2 separate regions of the Homo sapiens genome follow, and region 2 is linked to region 1. Evidence: promoter capture Hi-C in 16 types of primary human blood cells and fetal thymus (Javierre and others, 2016). All regions are on one chromosome and are shown on one strand. The core of a region is centred on a gene start or on the middle of the fragment in contact, and the rest is flanking DNA. Distances in the headings are between cores, read along the strand shown. Region 1 holds the start of HABP4 (hyaluronan binding protein 4). Region 2 holds the start of LOC105376163 (a long non-coding RNA gene).

What was found. The method cuts DNA at HindIII sites, captures the fragments that hold promoters and counts their contacts. A CHiCAGO score of 5 or more calls a contact.
Region 2: a fragment that was not itself captured here is called in contact with the fragment with the promoter of HABP4 in region 1 in 1 of 17 cell types (megakaryocytes); the score reaches 5.8 in megakaryocytes.

Annotation. Positions count from the first base shown.
Region 1 is chr9:96,447,737-96,451,570 of GRCh38, reverse strand. HABP4 (hyaluronan binding protein 4) reads right to left here and starts at 1,402. Exons shown (of 8, transcript NM_014282.4): 1 at 943-1,402. The coding sequence starts at 1,291. RefSeq lists silencers at 885-934, 1,015-1,074, 1,085-1,624 and an enhancer at 1,905-1,984. The HindIII fragment of the contact is 2,057 bases long and covers 1-1,719 here.
Region 2 is chr9:96,598,196-96,602,460 of GRCh38, reverse strand. All of the region lies in intron 1 of CDC14B (cell division cycle 14B), which reads left to right. It overlaps LOC105376163 (a long non-coding RNA gene), which reads right to left and starts at 2,844. Exons shown (of 4, transcript XR_001746853.2): 1 at 2,757-2,844. The HindIII fragment of the contact is 4,276 bases long and covers 1-3,763 here.

The sequences.
Region 1 (3,834 bases), core at 153-2,652:
AAACCAATAAAGCCAAGTTGAACACACTGGCAAACGTCGGCAGGAATGGTCAACCTACACATCTTAATCCTAACACTCTGCAAACCTTGGGACCGCTGCCTCATTTCAAGAAAACAGGAAACACAGGTGGAGTGTTGCTGGCTCTGCCACTGACGCAGTTCGGTGAGAGAATGAACTCTGAAGCACCCTCCCCGTCCACAGGCAGCAGGACACCACGCTGCGCACCGGTTTTTCTTGCTAAATAGGGAGTGGGGAACTCCGAATATTCTTGCTGGAAAGGTTAAAAACGCTTTTCTTAAAGCAGCCTTGAGCTATTTATAAGTTGCACATCCCATCAACACCACACGAAGTACTGAAATACGATGCCGGCTGCCTCCTGGAAGCTACCGGACGGAGAAGGGGCGAAGGCGCCAGGCCGGACCGCGCCGGGGACCCCCGCCCGGGCCCCGACGTCACAGGCCGCCCCGCGGTCGCCCAGGCCTCCGGCATCACAGAGGCCCCCAGCCCCGGGACCAGGCGCCCTCCTCCTCCCCACCGCGCTCTCGGGTGGCTCCGACCTCAATCTTGCAGAGGCTGGGCTGGAAGATGAAGGTCCCCGCCAGGTCTGGATGTGGGAGCCCCGGGGTAGCGACCTCAGCCGTTCGCCCCCACACGCCACCCAGACAACCTCCCTCAACTTCGTCCAACTTGCCGTAGAGCCTCAGTGCCAGGGTTCGAGGGCCCTATCCCACCCCAAGCCAGCGTTTCCCCCGGAGCCCCGCACGAGGCTGGCGAGAGCTGGAAGGGGTGTGACCCCTGCCCCTCTCCTCCTACCTTCGGCGGCCACCAGGACCCTCAACTCTCCCTACTGTTCCCGGGCCCCTCCTCCTGAAACCGGCCCCCGGGACCCCAGTCTCACAGCGGGCCGAGCCGTGGTCCGCTAACCCCGCTGTCCCCGCGTACCCGGCGCCTGCAGGCCGCCCCCGGGGCTATCGGGCCGCTGAGCGACGGGCGCCGGGAGGCTCTTGCGCTCCTTCTGCGACTCCCTCCGGCCGCCCGCGCCGGCTCTGTGGCCCGAGGCCCCGGCTGGGCTCCTGCCGCCGCGGGGACCGGCCCCGGCCGCCGCCGCCGCCTCGTCGCGCCTCTTGCGCTGCAGCTGCTGCTGGCGCCGGCGCTCGGCCTCGCGCAGGATGTCGAACGGGTCCGACTCGTCGTCCAGCAGCTGATGGAAGCGGTTGGCCACCACGCAGCCGAAACTCTCCTGCATCGCGGCGCCAGCGGCAGCCACGGGACTCCCCAGAGCGCCCTTCATGCCGCCGCGACCACTGCGGGCCCGGGAGGGCAGCCCACGCGAGCGCGTCTCAGCGAAGCCGGCGGCCAGGACCCATGCCGCCCGCTCCGCCGCCACCGCCCTCCGGGCCCTACCCTGTCCGGCCCCTACCGGCGCCCGCCCCCGCGGCGCCGCCGCCGTCCGCCCCGCTGCGCCAGACAGCCAGTCAGCGCGCGCGGGTGCGCCCCCTTTCCGACACGGCGCGCCTGGAGACCCAATCACCGACCGGCTGCTGTCACGTCACGCGACCTCTGGGCCCCGCCCCGTTCGCTCAGCAGGGAGGGGCGGGGCCCAGGGGCGGAGCTACTGGCTGGTCCAGGCGGCGCCGACGAAGCGGTGGGGTCTCGGCTGTGTGTGCTTTCTCCCGGGACTGCGACCGTATTTGCTATGGGCCACTCTGCTTTGAAGCTTATGTATACATTTAGCCGTGCAACAGCTACATATTGCGCACTTACCGTGTGCCAGGCATTATGTTGTAGGAAATACTAGCTCCGTGTTGTCACAGATCTGAGTCTGTAGATGGAGAAAAAGTGCCCTGAAGGACAGGCGCAGAGCTCTCTACGGGCTGCAGCAAAGGGATCTGACCTAATTGGGAAATGACAGTTAAGCCGAGGGAGAGGGGTGACAAGGGGTTGGAGGAGGAACAGCAAGTGCAGCAGTCTTGAGGTGGGATGTGCACAGCCTATTCAAGCTCAAAGTGGTCTCTATTCTAAGAGCAGTGGGAAGCAAGTTTTGAGCATGAGCAGATTTGGGTTTGAAAAGGCCACCCTACCTGCACTGTGAACTAATAGTTTGGAGGGAAATACAAATGGATGCTGGGAAGCCAAACATGATTGTTGCAAAGCTCCAGGGAAGAGTTGATAGTGACTGGGATTAGGATGGTGGCGGTGGAGGCGAAGAGAGTAGATGGATTCAAAGACTTGGTGATGCGCTAGAGGTGGTGATGAGGGAGAAGAAGATACGGTGACTCTTATTTTCCTGGCTCCAGCATCTGAATGATAGTATTAGTTACCACTGGAAGACACTACTTTAACGGGAATCATTAATTCAGTCTGGGACACGTTGAGGTTTGGATATTTGTTTTCTTTTGAGATATTCAGTTGAGGCCTGGAGCTTAGAGAACGCCGGACTGGACTTCCTCCAGGAAATCTTTGCATAGGCAGCGGTGGAGACACGCTTGGCTGCCTATCCTACAGCCGTTCTTTCCCTCTTACATTTTTCCAGAGCCTGTATTTTGTTCAGGCATCATATTCCCCAGGGGAAGAGGGCCCCTTCCAGCCTCAAACTTGATTAATCATACATTATTCATTGCACCTGATTCCAATTCCTTGCCAGTAATTGGCTTAGGAATAGGCTGTGGGGCAAATCGGGCAGAACAGATCTGAGAAGTATTCTGGGAAAGTTTTTCTTGCACCTAACAAGGGATTGAGAAGGGATCTCCCCCCCTTCTGTTCCCTGGTCTTTGTTCCATGAGAAGACATGATGCCTCGGGTGGCTGTTCCTTAGCGTGGCCATGAGGATGGCAGAGCAGGATAGAGAAAGGCTAGATCCTTGATGAGGTTGAGCTGCCGACTGGACCCACTTGGGAACCTCCCTACTTGAGGCTTATGATGTAAGGTGACAGATGTGATTGCGCTTAGTTGTGTTTGCTTGTTTCATCCGAAAGCATCCAGTTAGAGCATCTTGCCAGGTGCTCTGTGACCAGCTTTTACTTTCCTTAATAGCAAAGGAATTCCTAATCCTAAATGCTGTAAAGTCTGTGTGTTACTCACTTATTGAATTTTGTGTTATTCCCAAGGAGGACAGGGATGATGCCTGTCTTATTCACTGCAGTATGTATTCCCAGTGCTTGGCGTTCTAAGCAGCTATAGAGTAGGTTTTCAGTAAATATTTGTTGAATGATTGAAGAATTTAAGATATTTGGTCATCTCCTTTTGAGTGAGCAAAGATTAATGCCTACGCTTTCTACCCAAAAGAATTAAAAGCAAGTGTTCAAACCAAAACTTGTACATGAGTATTCATAGCAGCACTATTCACAATAGCCAAAAGACAGAAACAAATAATATACATGTCACCCGATGAATGGATAAATAAAATGTGGTACAAAAAATATTATTTGGTCAAAAAGGAAGTATTGATACTTGTTACAACAGGGATGAAACTTGAAAACATTGTGCTAAGTGAAAGACGGACAAAAAGGGCCACACGTTGTATGATTCCATTTATATGAAATGTCCAGAATCTATAGAGACAGAAAGCAGATTGGTGGTCACCAGGTGTGGGGGTTGGGAGTGTTGGAAAGTAACTGCTTAATGGGCATGGGAGTTTCCTGTGGGGTGATGAAATGTTCTGGAACGAGATAGTGGAGATGGTTGCACAAAATTGTAAATTTAGTAAATGTCACTGAGTTGTACACTTTAAAATTGTAAAAATAGTAAATTTTGTGTAAAATTTAGTAAAAATAGTAAATTTTTTGTAAAAATAGTAAATTTATCTTAATGAACCAGAGTAAAAATAGTAAATTT
Region 2 (4,265 bases), core at 376-2,875, 150 kb before region 1:
TAAATTGCCCAGTTTCGGGGATGTCCTTATCAGCAGCGTGAAAACGGACTAACATATGTGGTAATAAAAAATAAGACCCCCAAATCTCAGCAGCTGAAAATACAGACGTAATTCTTTTTTGCAGAGGTGCTGTGCTTCAGCAGGGAACTGTGCTTGTTGTGACTGCTTGGGGACATGGGCTGATGAGCAGCATCTTCTCAGTATTGCTGGTCCCTGTGCAGAGGGAAAAGAGCTGTGGAAGGTCTGGAATTAACATTTAGATGCCTTTTTCCACTCATAGCTCACAGGCCAGAAGTAATCAAATGGTTCCATCCAACAGGCCAGAAATATTTGGTGAACAGCACTAATGACTACCACAGTTAGTTTTTGTTTTGTTTTGTTTTTGTTTTTGTTTTTGTTTTTGAGACTGAGTCTCGCTCTGTCGTCCAGGCTGGAGTGCAGTGGCGCGATCCTGGCTCACTGAAAGCTCCGCCTCCTGGGTTCACGCCATTCTCCTGCCTCAGCCTCCTGAGTAGCTGGGGTTACAGGCACCCACCACCATGCCCAGCTAATTTTTTGTATTTTTAGTGGAGATGGGATTTCACTGTGTTAGCCAGGATGGTCTCGATCTCCTGACCTTGTGATCAGCCCACCTCGGCCTCCCAATTTTTTTTTTTTTTTTTTTTTCGAGACAGCGTCTTGCTCTGTCGCCCAGGCTGGAGTGCAGTGGTGCGCCCTCAGCTCACTGCAAACCCCCACCTCCTGGGTTCAAGTGATTCTCCTGCCTCAGCTTCCCGAGTAGCTGGGACTGCAGGCGCCTGCCACCACACCCGGCTAATTTTTGTAGTTTTAGTAGATGGGGTTTCACCATGTTGCCCAGGCTGGTCTCAAACTCCTGACCTCAAGTGATCTGCCGCCTCGGCCTCCCAAAGTGCTGGGTTTACTACAGGTGTGCCACGCCCGGCCCTTTTGTAAGTTTTTTTTTTGAGATGGAGTCTCTTTCTGTCACCAGGCTGGAGTGCAGTGGTGCAATCTTGGCTCACTGCAACCTCTGCCTCCCGGGTTCAAGCAATTCTCCTGCCTCAGCCTCCCAAGTAGCTGGGACTACAGGCGCACACCACCATGCCCAACTAATTTTTCTATTTTTAGTAGAGACGGAGTTTCACCATGTTGGCCAGGATGGTCTCAATCTCTTGACCTCATGATCCGCCTGCCTTGGCCTCACAAAGTGCTGGGATTACAGGTGTGAGCCACCACACCTGGCCCCACAGTTAGGTTTTTAGATTGTTCAGAGCATGTTTAGATACACAGATATGTCTATAGAGAAATACACTTTTTTTTTTGAGAGGGAGTCTTGCTATGTCGCATATACTTTCACATCAACAAGATAAATATTCCAAGTACTATCATATCATTAGTTTCTTCCTATTTCATATAATGTAGTGGAATATTTTATTGTCATAAACACTTCTAAACATGGATATCTTTTTTTAGTGGATGCATACTGTTCCATTATATGGTTGCATAATAATCTGTTTCCTTATGTATCCTCTACTGAGAAAAATGTACATAAATTCATTTGCATAACATTGGGTAGAGAATTTTAGGAGTTGTGGACACCATCCCTAGCCAAGCCATGGATTGCTGTTATAGTTTATAGGTTATAAACACAAACGCTAGGCCGGGTGCGGTGGCTCACACCTGTAATCCCAGCACTTTGGGAAGCTGAGGCAGGTGGATCACTTGAGGTCAGGAGTTTGAGACCAGCCTGGCCAATATGGTAAAACTCTGTCTCTACTAAAAATACAAAAATTAGCCGGGCTTGGTGGCGCACACCTGTTATCCCAGCTGCTCAGGAGGCTGAGGCCGGAGAATCGCTCGAACTCAGGAGGTGGAGGTTGCAGTGAGCCAAGATCGCACCATTGCACTCCAGCCTGGGCAACAGAGTTAGACCCCATCTCAAAAAAAAAAACCACAAGCTCTATTTAGAATACTCTCTCCTTATCCCATTAATCTCCCTCACAAAAGTGTAATAACTTTTTACACTTGATATTTTGGTAGGTAAATAAATTCACATGGTTCTGAGAATAAGTATAAAGTGAAGAGCCTCTCATCAGCCCCTCCTTGCCCTCATCTGTCCAGTTCTTCTTACCCCTGCTATCCCTCACAGATTTTAATTTCTCATTTCCCTCCAGAATTTTTTTAAAAAATGTATTTGCATAAAATATATATATATATATAATTTTTTTGGTAGAGATGGGCTCTTGTTATGTTGTGCAGGCTGGTCTCAAACTTCTGGCCTCAAGTGATTCTCCCACCTCGGCCTACCAAAGTGCTGGGATTACAGGCGAGAGCCATCATGCTCAGCCAAGATTCTTTAAAAAGTTATTATTTTACCCTTTTTATTTTGGAATAAAATTGGATTTATAGAAAAGTTACATTTAGAAATAACGGCCAGGTATGGTGGCTCATGCCTGTAATCCCAGCACTTTGGGATGCCAAGGTGGATGGATCACGAGGTCAAGAGATTGAGAGCATCCTGGCCAACGTGGTGAAACCCCGTTTCTACTGAAAATACAAAAATTAGTTGGGTGTGGTGGCATGCGCCTGTAGTCCCAGCTACTTGGGAGGGTGAGGCAGGAGAATCGCTTGAACCTGGGAGGTGGAAGTTGCAGTGAGCTGCGCCACTGCACTCCAGCCTGGTGACAAAGTGAGAATCCGTCTCAAAAAAAAAAGAAAACAAAAGAAAAGTTACAGAAATAATACAGAGAGCTCACCCGGTTTCCTGAAATGAAAGCATCTTATGTTGCCGTAGCATGTTTATCACCACTAAGAAGCTAACATCATTGTGAATTATTAACTAAACTTCAGATTTTATTTGGATTTCCCCAGGTTTTTCATTAGTATCTTTGTTCTGTTCAGGATACAGTCCAGGACACTACATTGCATTAAACAGATTCTCTTTGAATTGAGAGATAGCATGTGCTCCATGTGGTTCTGCATTTAGTGTTCTCAACTGATGATGTCATAATTCATTGATTTCAAAATCCAATGGAATGTAACTATTATTTTTGAGTACTTCTTCTCCTTTTTTTTTTTTTAAACGGAGTTTCACTCTTGTTGCCCAGGCTGGAGTGCAATGGCGAGATCTCGGCTCACTGCAACCTCCGCCTCCTGGGTTCAAGTGATTCTCCTGCCTCAGCTTCCCGAGTAGCTGGGATTACAGGCACCCATCATGATGCCTGGCTAATTTTTTGTATTTTTAATAGAGATGGGGTTTTGCCATGTTGGCCAAGTTGGTCTTGAACTCCTGACCTCAGGTGATCCGCCCACCTTGGCCTCCCAAAGTGCTGGGATTACAGGTGTGAGCCACCACACCCGGCTCTAAGTACTTCTAAGAAAGGAAAAATGCTGCCAATTATAATTGTAAGTTACTAATTATAAGATACGGCATAATTTCAGAGATGTTCAAATGTGAGAAAAGTACATTTTAGATTTAATGGAATATGATACATCTTGGAAAGATTTCAACTTTATTTCACAGAATTTTCTCATTCTTTTTGTACCTACATAGAATTTCACTTTATAATATACAAAAGATCTTTAAGCAAGCCCTTATTGATACTCATGTGGATTGTTTTCTGTCTTTAGGTATTAAAATGCTGTATTCAATAATTTGGGACATATATGTCATTTCACATATATACAGATGTGTATCAGGGTGACATTCCAAAAGTGCACTGCTGAGTTAGAGGTATATGTATTTGTAATTTTGATGGAAGCTTTACCAATTTACAGTCCCACTAGCAATGTATGAGAATAGTTTTTTTTAATGACTTCACAAATAGGCCGGGCACAGTGGCTCACACCTATAATCCCAGCACTTTGGGAGGCCGAGGCAGGTGGATCACAAGGTCAGGAGTTCAAAACCAGCCTGGCCAAGATGGTGAAACCCTGTCTCTACTGAAAATACAAAAATTAGCTGGGTGTAGTGGCAGGCGCCTGTAATCCCAGCTACTGGGGAGGCTGAGGCAGGCGAATGACATGAACCCAGGAGGTGGAGCTTGCAATGAGCCAAGATCGTGCCACTGCACTCCAGCCTGGGTGACAGAGCGAGACTCCATCTCAAAAAAACAAAAAACAAACAAAAAACACTTCACAAATAAAGTAGGTTACCAAACTTTTAGATTTTTGCCAATCTAATGTTTGGAAAATTATAGTCTCAATGTAGTTTTCATTTGTATTTCTCTTATGAGTATAGGTTGAGTTTCTGAAAACTGGCCATA